Linked DNA regions of Homo sapiens: all the other regions are linked to region 3. Evidence: promoter capture Hi-C in 16 types of primary human blood cells and fetal thymus (Javierre and others, 2016). All regions are on one chromosome and are shown on one strand. Each heading gives the region's core, a stretch centred on a gene start or on the middle of the fragment in contact. The rest is flanking DNA. Distances are from core to core; before and after follow the strand shown. Region 1 holds the start of ORMDL1 (ORMDL sphingolipid biosynthesis regulator 1). Region 2 holds the start of OSGEPL1-AS1 (OSGEPL1 antisense RNA 1). Region 3 holds the start of PGAP1 (post-GPI attachment to proteins inositol deacylase 1).

What was found. The method cuts DNA at HindIII sites, captures the fragments that hold promoters and counts their contacts. A CHiCAGO score of 5 or more calls a contact.
Region 1: the fragment with the promoter of ORMDL1 here is called in contact with the fragment with the promoter of PGAP1 in region 3 in 1 of 17 cell types (non-activated CD4 T cells); the score reaches 7.0 in non-activated CD4 T cells.
Region 2: the fragment with the promoter of OSGEPL1-AS1 here is called in contact with the fragment with the promoter of PGAP1 in region 3 in 1 of 17 cell types (non-activated CD4 T cells); the score reaches 6.3 in non-activated CD4 T cells.

The regions. Positions count from the first base shown.
Region 1 is chr2:189,783,050-189,786,065 of GRCh38, forward strand. It overlaps ORMDL1 (ORMDL sphingolipid biosynthesis regulator 1), which reads right to left and starts at 1,290. Exons shown (of 5, transcript NM_016467.5): 1 at 1,220-1,290; 2 at 1-74. PMS1 (PMS1 homolog 1, mismatch repair system component) reads left to right here and starts at 1,401. Exons shown (of 13, transcript NM_000534.5): 1 at 1,401-1,544. RefSeq lists enhancers at 577-1,463, 749-828, 919-978, 989-1,218, 1,769-1,818 and a silencer at 1,359-1,408. The HindIII fragment of the contact is 2,480 bases long and covers 1-1,318 here.
Region 2 is chr2:189,761,199-189,764,089 of GRCh38, forward strand. OSGEPL1-AS1 (OSGEPL1 antisense RNA 1) reads left to right here and starts at 1,582. Exons shown (of 2, transcript NR_102429.1): 1 at 1,582-1,794. It overlaps OSGEPL1 (O-sialoglycoprotein endopeptidase like 1), which reads right to left and starts at 1,594. Exons shown (of 9, transcript NM_022353.3): 1 at 1,487-1,594; 2 at 222-462. The coding sequence starts at 442. It also overlaps a transcript of ANKAR not described here and a transcript of ORMDL1 not described here. RefSeq lists enhancers at 1,077-1,236, 1,523-2,269. The HindIII fragment of the contact is 3,776 bases long and covers 1-1,669 here.
Region 3 is chr2:196,925,332-196,928,266 of GRCh38, forward strand. PGAP1 (post-GPI attachment to proteins inositol deacylase 1) reads right to left here and starts at 1,376. Exons shown (of 27, transcript NM_024989.4): 1 at 1,139-1,376. The coding sequence starts at 1,285. RefSeq lists a silencer at 1,325-1,574. The HindIII fragment of the contact is 4,012 bases long and covers 1-2,659 here.

The DNA of each region.
Region 1 (3,016 bases), core at 40-2,539, 7.1 Mb before region 3:
GACTTAATGTATCCATAAAGAATGGTCAGAGTTCAGATCACTTCTTTCTGAATACTCAATGTGGAAGGTACATGCTGTTGACATAATGTGGTGTAAAATTTACATGGTCAAGGGATAATGTTTGTTTCTCAATTTTGTGATTAAACTAGGTGAAAATAAGGAGTCTTCTGAATATTTCTCTAGTCAAATCAAAAACTTCAGTTTTCTTTCTTCTTTTTAAAAAAGGTTTTCCCTTCTCCTTTCCATTGAAGATGGACTCCAAAGGAAGAATTGATAATAGTTCTCAGTTCTTTTAATGATGGTGTTTACTTGAGACTAAGAATTGCTTAAAATAAAACTGTCCTGAAGAACACCTATCATCCGACGGAGGGGGAAAACGAGGCTAGATTATATTTGGAACAGCTGTGATTTTAAAATACACAAACGCTTGTATTACGGAGTTAGCATACAGAGAGGAATTTCTCATAACCCCTTCCAGCAAATGTTTCCGGAGTATAATGCTCCTTCCGCTCTAGAGACCCATAGAACAGGCATCAAGGGTTAAGGGGACGAAAAGTTAGTTACACTAAGACCGCTAAAGCCTCCAATTTATATGTGTAAATCTTTCGTCTAAACACCCATGATTTATCATACATTAAACTATTATGTCATACTTAGAACATGCCAACACTCAAGATAGTTTTCCCACGTTCCACAGGATGGAGGCCTGAAATTTACATCTCAGCTGGAAGGCAAAGCTGGTGCGGTACTCATCCTATTCCAACCAGAAAACCTTTTCCCAGCAGGTTTGCCGCGCTGCCCACGACTGGCAAACAATGACCTTACAGACCGTGAAGAGGCTGTTGGCTCTGCCCTCGCCGGTGCCTCCGAAGACGGCGACCCGCAGCGGCCCCTCAGGGGAGTCCCCCCTGCTAGACCGACAGCCCGAGCGCTCTGGGCCAGAGAAAACTCAGCAAAAGCCGCCGCTGCTACCACCTCAGCGCCTCCCCCAACCCGCCCCTTCCTTCTCGCGGCCGCACGTCACGTCAGGACCCTGGCAAGACAACGAGGATTTGCGTAGGGGGCGAGCCTCTGAGGCCACTTGGCTCTTACGGCCACGCAGGGCGCCGCAGATGCAGCCGGAGCCCGCTTTTCCCTCTCAGGACGACCCCTAGGCCGCCAGCAGTTCCCTACCGACGAAGGCGACTGTACAGCGTCCACCGCGTTCGTGCCCACTTACCCGCCGCCCCACTCCGGGCCGCCGGCTCGCAGCAGGACCAGCCCGGCTGCTACGGCCGCGGATACACGCCCTCAGGCCCGGCGCTGCGCAGCTTGCGGAAGCTTTCCCGGACAGACTCGCTGCCAGCGGATTGGCTGCGAGCAGCGCCAATCTCACGTTGCCCCCGGGCGAGGCGGGACTCAGTGCCGCGCTCTCTGCACCCGCTCTGCCGCGCGCGTGCGTGCTGGGTGCGGGTGCGGGTGCGGGGTTGGGCCTGCGCATCGGGTGAGACGCTGGCTGCTTGCGGCTAGTGGATGGTAATTGCCTGCCTCGCGCTAGCAGGAAGGTAGTGTGGTGTGACTAACGGGTATTTATTATATCCTCGATGGCTCGAGGGCCCCGTCCCCTCTACTCGTCCTGGTCCGGGCGCGAACGCTATAGGGCAGCTAAGGGCGCTCCCCGCGGGGCGGGAAGCGAAGCCGGGCTTGCGGGCGCGCACACGTGGAACGCGTTTTCTGAGCAGGTCTGGGCTCCGGGGTGTTCTGGCTTGGTCTTTGTTGCGTCCCATTCCCCAGACCCTTCTGGGTGGAGGACTTAAAATTTGTTTTCCAGGCAGCAGATTTAACCCATGGCAACTGTAACTCATCTTGTGTGAGTGGCGGTTTATAGTATTGTATCCTGTGGCATCATACAAGGGGTGCAAGTTAAACTCTTTAAAGTTAATCACGATTTTTGCTCTTGGCCTTCTGGGTTTATCCGTACGCCGAAGACAGGCACCTGTATTACATGCTAAGGAAATGTGAATACCAAAAATTGATCCTGAGGAAAGTCTTGATTAGGTTTTTTTGGAATCGCCTTTGAAATGTAATTTCCCTCACCTTGGCAGTGCAGAAAGTTTGTGATTTTTATTGCCGAAATAGCTTTCAACATTTTGAAATTGACTTAAGAGAATGTTGGCTGTGTATGTCTGTATCTTGCATTTCTGTTGGCTTTGTGAACCTAATTGTTTTGGATTTAGTCTGATCTTTAAATAAATGATTTCTTTGTGTTCTCTCTAATGGAAGTCTGTGAGTTCTCTGATCTTTACTTCTTTTTTAGGCACACCTGTTGTCCTTAACTGACTTTCCGGGTCATCAGCACTTCTTCAGAAGTGTTCCTTTTCCCTCCCAGCAAATATGGAAGACTGACTATCCTGATATTCCCAGACATTCTTTGCTGTGATTTGTAAGCCCGATATAAACCCTTCCATTTGGTACACATATGGTATAGAGTGCTATATTCCAGGGGCTATGCTAGCGATGTGTGATTGATATAAAACCCCTGTCCTCAAAGAACTCTGAGTCAGGAGCAACAGACAGAAACACATATTAATAGAGTAACTTGTGATGAGGTTAATTAGAAATGAGGTAAAGGGGGACTGCAGGGGAAGGAATACCTAATCTGTTGGCAGGTGAAGGAAAGGAGGCTGCAGCAGGGAAGAAAGGCTTGAAGAGTTGATACTGAACTAAATCTGGAAGGATGATTAGAAGTCAGCTGAGAGAGAACCATGTGAGCTGAGGAAGGAGTGAGTGTCACCATGTTAAGAGAGACAAGTTGGCTGGGCACGGTGGCTCACACCTGTAATCCCAGCACTTTGGGAGGCCAAGGCGGGCGGATCACCTGAGGTCAGGAGTTCGAGACCAGCCTGGCCAACATGGTGAAACCCTGTCTCTACTAAAAATACGAAAATTAGCCGGGCGTGGTAGTGCGCTCCTGTAATCCCAGCTACTTGCAGGGCTGGGACAGGAGAATTGCTTGAACCTGGGAGGCAGAGGTTGC
Region 2 (2,891 bases), core at 332-2,831, 7.2 Mb before region 3:
TCAGTTTCTTTTGGCAACAGGATTAGTTAAGGTTGGGACCTTATTGTGAAGACCCTTAAAAGCCAGGATGAAGTGTTTGAGGTTTTCTATAGCAGTTATTAAAAGTGTTTGCAAAAAGGAATAAGACAGTAGCTCCTGAAAACTTTTATATATGACAAATACAAAAGAATGATTTTACTTTTTCCAAAAAAGTGGAAATGACTAAGATAATGTCTACTTACTTTAAATGAACTTCAGTTTGGGAATGTATTGCTTCTCCCAACACATTTCCAGTTTCATCCACCACAGCAGCTGCTGTATCATCACAACTAGTTTCAATTCCCAATACTATTTTATGAAGAAATAGTGTTCCAGGATGAAAATTAAAACTTCTTAAAAATTCATAAACTTTCCTTTTTGATGGTTTAAAAAAAACTCCTGCAGTCTTAGTCAAGATTAGCATACTTACTCTATAGATAATTCCTGAAAAAGAATTACAGAAACAACTTATTATTTGCAACTGACATTAGCCAGCTTATTTTTCAATATATAGTTTTACAGAATTACAGGAAAGTTTGTAAAAGTCACCAAAAGTTTGTAAAGGCTATAGCAACATGGGAATATAAATAATATTATGAATGAATATAATGTTCTCCAAGGGGGAAAACAGGGGTCAGATATAAAATTTTTTAGTATTATTATTACTTGCATGCTGTTCCTACCAAAAGACTTACTATTAAGACAGCTAATATAAAGTACAATAATTGATAGAGTCCTCTGAAAAGTGCTATTTATTTTTTGACAGCTAAAATTAAGACAAAATGTGGATTTTCTAAAAAGAATCAAACAACAAAGGCAGATGGAACAGATAAAAATACTGTTAATGTATTCCATCTCCTAAAAACATCTTTCAAAATAAAACTGGATCATTTGGTTCAAAAACAAGAGTTAACATAAACACACACACGCCAACTGCAACCTAACACCTATTTTATCCTTAATTGCAATCTTTGGAATTAAATCTCCACTTTTTGCTACAGGTTTTGTCATAACAAGGATCTTCCCAAATCCTTTTCCCCCAAAATAATAGCAGCCCATCACTAAAGCACACTAGTATTTTCACACTGCGAAGCACCTAATTTTATGCCCCCAGATCATCCGTTCTAAAACTTTCTGGGTGTTAAAGCAGGGCCTTTCTCCACCACACTAAAGGGACACGGCATCCCAGGGATTAGAGATGAGCGACCTATTTGCAGAAGGCAGTTGCGGGCAGTGCAGCCCAGACAGACACAACCTAGAGGAATTAGATTTGCATTAACAAAATCTGGACAAGGAGGATTGTACGAAGCACTACCCTTTCGGGCCAAGAAAGCTGCAGGCTGAACCCACGTGACTTGGGTAGCGCTGGTCTCCTGTCGGCTGTAAGGCGGCGACGGGCGCAAACTGGAACCGCTTTTCCAGGTGCGCAAAAGCGTCAGTGGGGTGAAGAGTGAGCAATTTCACCCACCTTCCACTTGGGCGGCAGTAGCTAGCACTTGTCTCCTTTCCCTACTAAAGACTGTCGACTGCCCTTATCGCTGCAGGAGAAAGCCCGAACCTGGCGCCCGGAAGTGATGTCATCGGAACTGTGCAAGGTCCCGTCCAGAGCTGGCTGCTGTTCCGCTAGCGAGCGGCATGCTTAGTGAAGAAAAGCTTAAAGGCCGTCTTTGCCCAAAACGCTCTCTGTGCGCACCTGCATTTCCCCCAGATTTGCAGGTGATGAGAGTTCTGTAAAATTACACAGCTAGTGACTGATCCAGCGGAGGCCGAATACAGGTTTGTCTGACTACACAACATCAAGTTCCAAACACTAAGCTACATTAAAAAGAAATTTTTTTTTTGCCCTTGGCTGGAATTTGGTTGCTACTGTGAGAAAAGGATGGGGTAGATTATTCGTCATTCATTTTTAAGGGAACTATCATCAAATCTAAACTTAGGGGTGAGGTACCTGATACTTTCATCGGAGAAATAGGATGGAATCTAGCGGCGCCCCCTAGCAGGGTTACCAAAGAACGGAAGTGTTTCTCATCGGACAGTGTAAACCGTTTCTCCCACTTCACTAGGAAGAAAGGGGCTGGCTTATTTTTACAATTAAAAAAAAAAAAAATCGGGAGACTGAGGCAGGAGAACTGCTTGAACTGGGACCCGGGAGGCGGAGGTAGCAGTGAGCCGAGATCGCGCCACTGCACTCCAGCCTGAGCTACAGAGCGAGACTCTGTCTCAAAAAAAAAAAAAAAAAAAAAAAAAAGGCTGTGGTAAATATTCAGTTGCCTTAAACCATCCTATTTTCATAATGCATTATGTTGTCCTTCCTTACTATGTACATGAAATTCAGCATGGTATGTTTTCAAAGTCTTGCACCTGCTTTTTTTTTTTTTTTTCTTTTATTGGTTTGTGAACTTTGTTTTGAACATTGGACAGATTTATTCCAAGAGTCAGGCTTTTCCCCTGCTGGTATTTAAGATTTTAGTAAGCAAGGACCTTAGAATCCACTGTTGTACAGGGCTGGCATATATACCTGCACTTTGCACGTTGTGAAGCTCTGGGTATAAAAGATGAGTAAATCCCATAACAACATGTTGGGAAGCCACAGAGTACAGTCTAGAGGTGGATACAGATAAATAAGTAAATAATTACCAGAATATGGTTGAGGTTTTTTATTTGGAACTTATGTTTTTCAAAAATTTCATTTATGTGTAACAATAATGATAAAGTGGCACTATGTACCAGGCACCTGCTGTAGATTAATTTCTTTCAAAATCCCATGAAATAGTTTCTGTCCTCATTTTACAGGCAACTGGGCCACAGAGTTTGGGTGCTTTGGAGGTCACACAACTAGGAAAAGCAAAGCTAGGATTAGAAGTCAGGACATC
Region 3 (2,935 bases), core at 126-2,625:
AGCAATCAGGACTTGCATCCTTCACCCTAAAAAAAAAACTGCTGTGATTTTAAGAGTATACTAAAAATGTATTTTATCAATATATGTTATAGTGCATATACATTTTATGGTAGGGAATTATTACAATAGGTAGTCCATAATTAAGAGATGCACTTAGAAATAAAAGAATCATTCGGAAAAATTCTCTTAGGACAGTTGTGTAATTTGTCTGCGCCTCTTTTTACAGCTAGTCATGAATGAAATTCTAGATCCTACTATGCCGAACTAACGAAGCCATTGATTGAAAACATTCAAAATGGCATGGAAGCGGTAGGGGTGGAGAGAGAAGGGTTGGCTCTCTCTTAAACTCCGAACCCAGCGAGAAAACAAAAATAGCACCATGAAATAGATTTTGTATGCAACTATTAAGAGGCTCGGCTGCTGAGAGACATGCATAAACACAGGTATGCACACACACAGGCAAGCCCACACACGCACGGCCCCTTAACCTGCAAAATAAGAGGATCTGCAACATCTTTCCAAGAGGGGATCTAGTTTCCAATTCAATGACTCGCCAGTTTACCCATAGGCAAAACCCTGGAGTCTCTAAAAACAGCCTTGGGAACTATCTAGCCAATATACACTCTGCAGACGCTCGGTCCCTTTCTAGAAATGCGAAATCTGACGAGCAGATCACCGGGCGCGAGGGGAATTTAGGCGCGTGGGAAGCAAAGGAAGGTCCTGGGGCACGGGTTAAGGCAAGAACGCGAGAGGGATGGAGCTTCGGTTTAGGGAGAAGGGTTGAGGCTGCCTCTCTGGGCATGAGGGGGGCTGGGCCCGGCCAGTCAGAAGAGCTTGTGCCCAGGATTTGGGGCTGGGGAGGAGGCGGAGGGACAGCGGAGTAACTACGAGGACGACCACGAGGATGCTCTCGGGAAATCGTCTAACAAACACCCCACCGTGAAGAAGGGACACAAAGGGGAGGTGAGGGGGGCAGAAGGGGGATGCAGAGTCTCCCCGGGCGGAGAAAACAGAGGCGAGGACGGGACAGGGGGCCCGAGAGGCGCAGAGAGCCAAGGCAGGACGAACCCACAGAAGGAAAAAGGCACCAGGGGCCAGAGTCTTGGAGCGCCCGGCTGAGGAGAGGGCAGAACCTTACCTGATACTCCGGGTACTCAAACATGTAGCTCATACTGCACTTATTCTCCTCGAAGCCGAAGAAGACATCCCACAGCCCCAGGGTTGCCAGAAAGACCATGAAGACATAAAACGCCAGGTTCCAGAGATTAACTGAGTGAAGAAACATGGTGCCGCCACCACCGCCGCCGCCGCCGCCGCCCCCTCTACCTCCTTCTCCGCCGCGGGGCCCCAAGCCCGGACTGAGCGTGCTAGACACTGTCCGACCGCCACCCCCGGAGCCGAGCCCCAGCCGCGCGCGCCTGCGCTGATGCCCGGCCTGCCCGTTCGCCAGCCGCGCAGTGCGCCTGCGCGCACCAGGTCCGCGGCGCCTCTGGCCTGGCGACTCCCAGAGCCGAGGGAGGAGTAGGTGTTGCAGCGCGAGCGCGGATCTACGGGAAAGAGAAAGAGGGAGAAAGCAGGGTGGGCTGGGCTGGAGGGTGAGGGGAAAGAAGGGAAGTGGGGAGAGAAAGACGCGAGGAGTGGCTGGCGGGAGGGAAAGAAGAGAGAGAGAGGAAGCATCCAGAGGGGGATGGGCGGAGCGCGGGAGCCCTGGAGACGAGCCGGGGGATTGGGCAGGAGGCGGGTGTCAGATGGGTGAATCTGGGGAGGGGACTAGAGCCCAGAGTCCAGAGGCGATTAAGGACCGAGAGCGGACCGAGAGAGGGGAGGAGGACTTAAAAGCCCAGGGGTCATCAGCTGTCACCTCGCAAACGCCTCTCCCTGCGGCAGTTTAAAAACGCTTCCCGTTCAATTTTGAAAAGACTCAGGCCTCCGCAATTTCGGTTTTCCCAACGGTAGTAGAGCACACTCACAGCTCTCTGGAGCAGTTAGCTTGAAGAGGGAACAAATGGCTTTATTTTCCCTCTTCTACCGCCTACTTGGGCCCAGTAGGTAACAGCGCTTAAAAGCACCGGCTCATTAAAAAAAAAAAAAAAAAAAAAAAAAAAAACACCCGCAAGCCGACGAGATTCTGCTCTTGGTATCAGATGAAAGCCTGAATCACAAAAAGCATCGTTAGTCCTTAAAATATGTTACCAAAATATCTATTAGCACTGACGTCCCCAACAGGTATCTGCGTAATCAGTTTGACGCTGACTCGCCTTGCTCTCCAGAACCTCCATCTCTTGGGGAATGGGTTCCACGTTAACTGGAGGAGGCAATTTCGTCCAGCTTCCATTCAAACTCGCAAATGACTTAATTCGTTTTGAAGAATTTCGGTTCTGTTTTGTACAAAGGAGGAGTTTTTAAAAAAAGCTCGAAATCAATCACTTGTAGCAGCTTCAAAACACTAGAATGTTAGGAAAAAGACATCACTCTTTAAAGCTGACTCAACAGTAGACGGTGTGTGTGTGCGTGTGTGTGTAGTAACCACAGGATTCTTAGAATGGTCTTTGGCACTAAATGAATTTCATTGAACTTGGGCTGATTTTCTGGTATATTTTCTGTGCAGAGGAAGTTTGGCTACAATACATAAAATCAAAGAATTTTAAAACCAAAAGGAAGCTTATAGTTTATCTTGTACAACACCCTGATGTTCAGATTACGAAACTATGAAGAAGAAGTGGAGTGATCCTGAAAATCAAGATAGTCTTTACCCTGCACAGAAACAGTTGCAAGTCTAAACAAACACAGCTAGCTACGGAATGTGGAGTATTGACGGAGAAAGACAGAAATGGGAAAATGCGGAAGCAGTCTCCTTTTTTGTAGGGAGATAAGTCTGGAAAGACCAGGATAACAGGGGAGCTGTAGGTGGTACTGATCAGGAGGGCAATTAAGT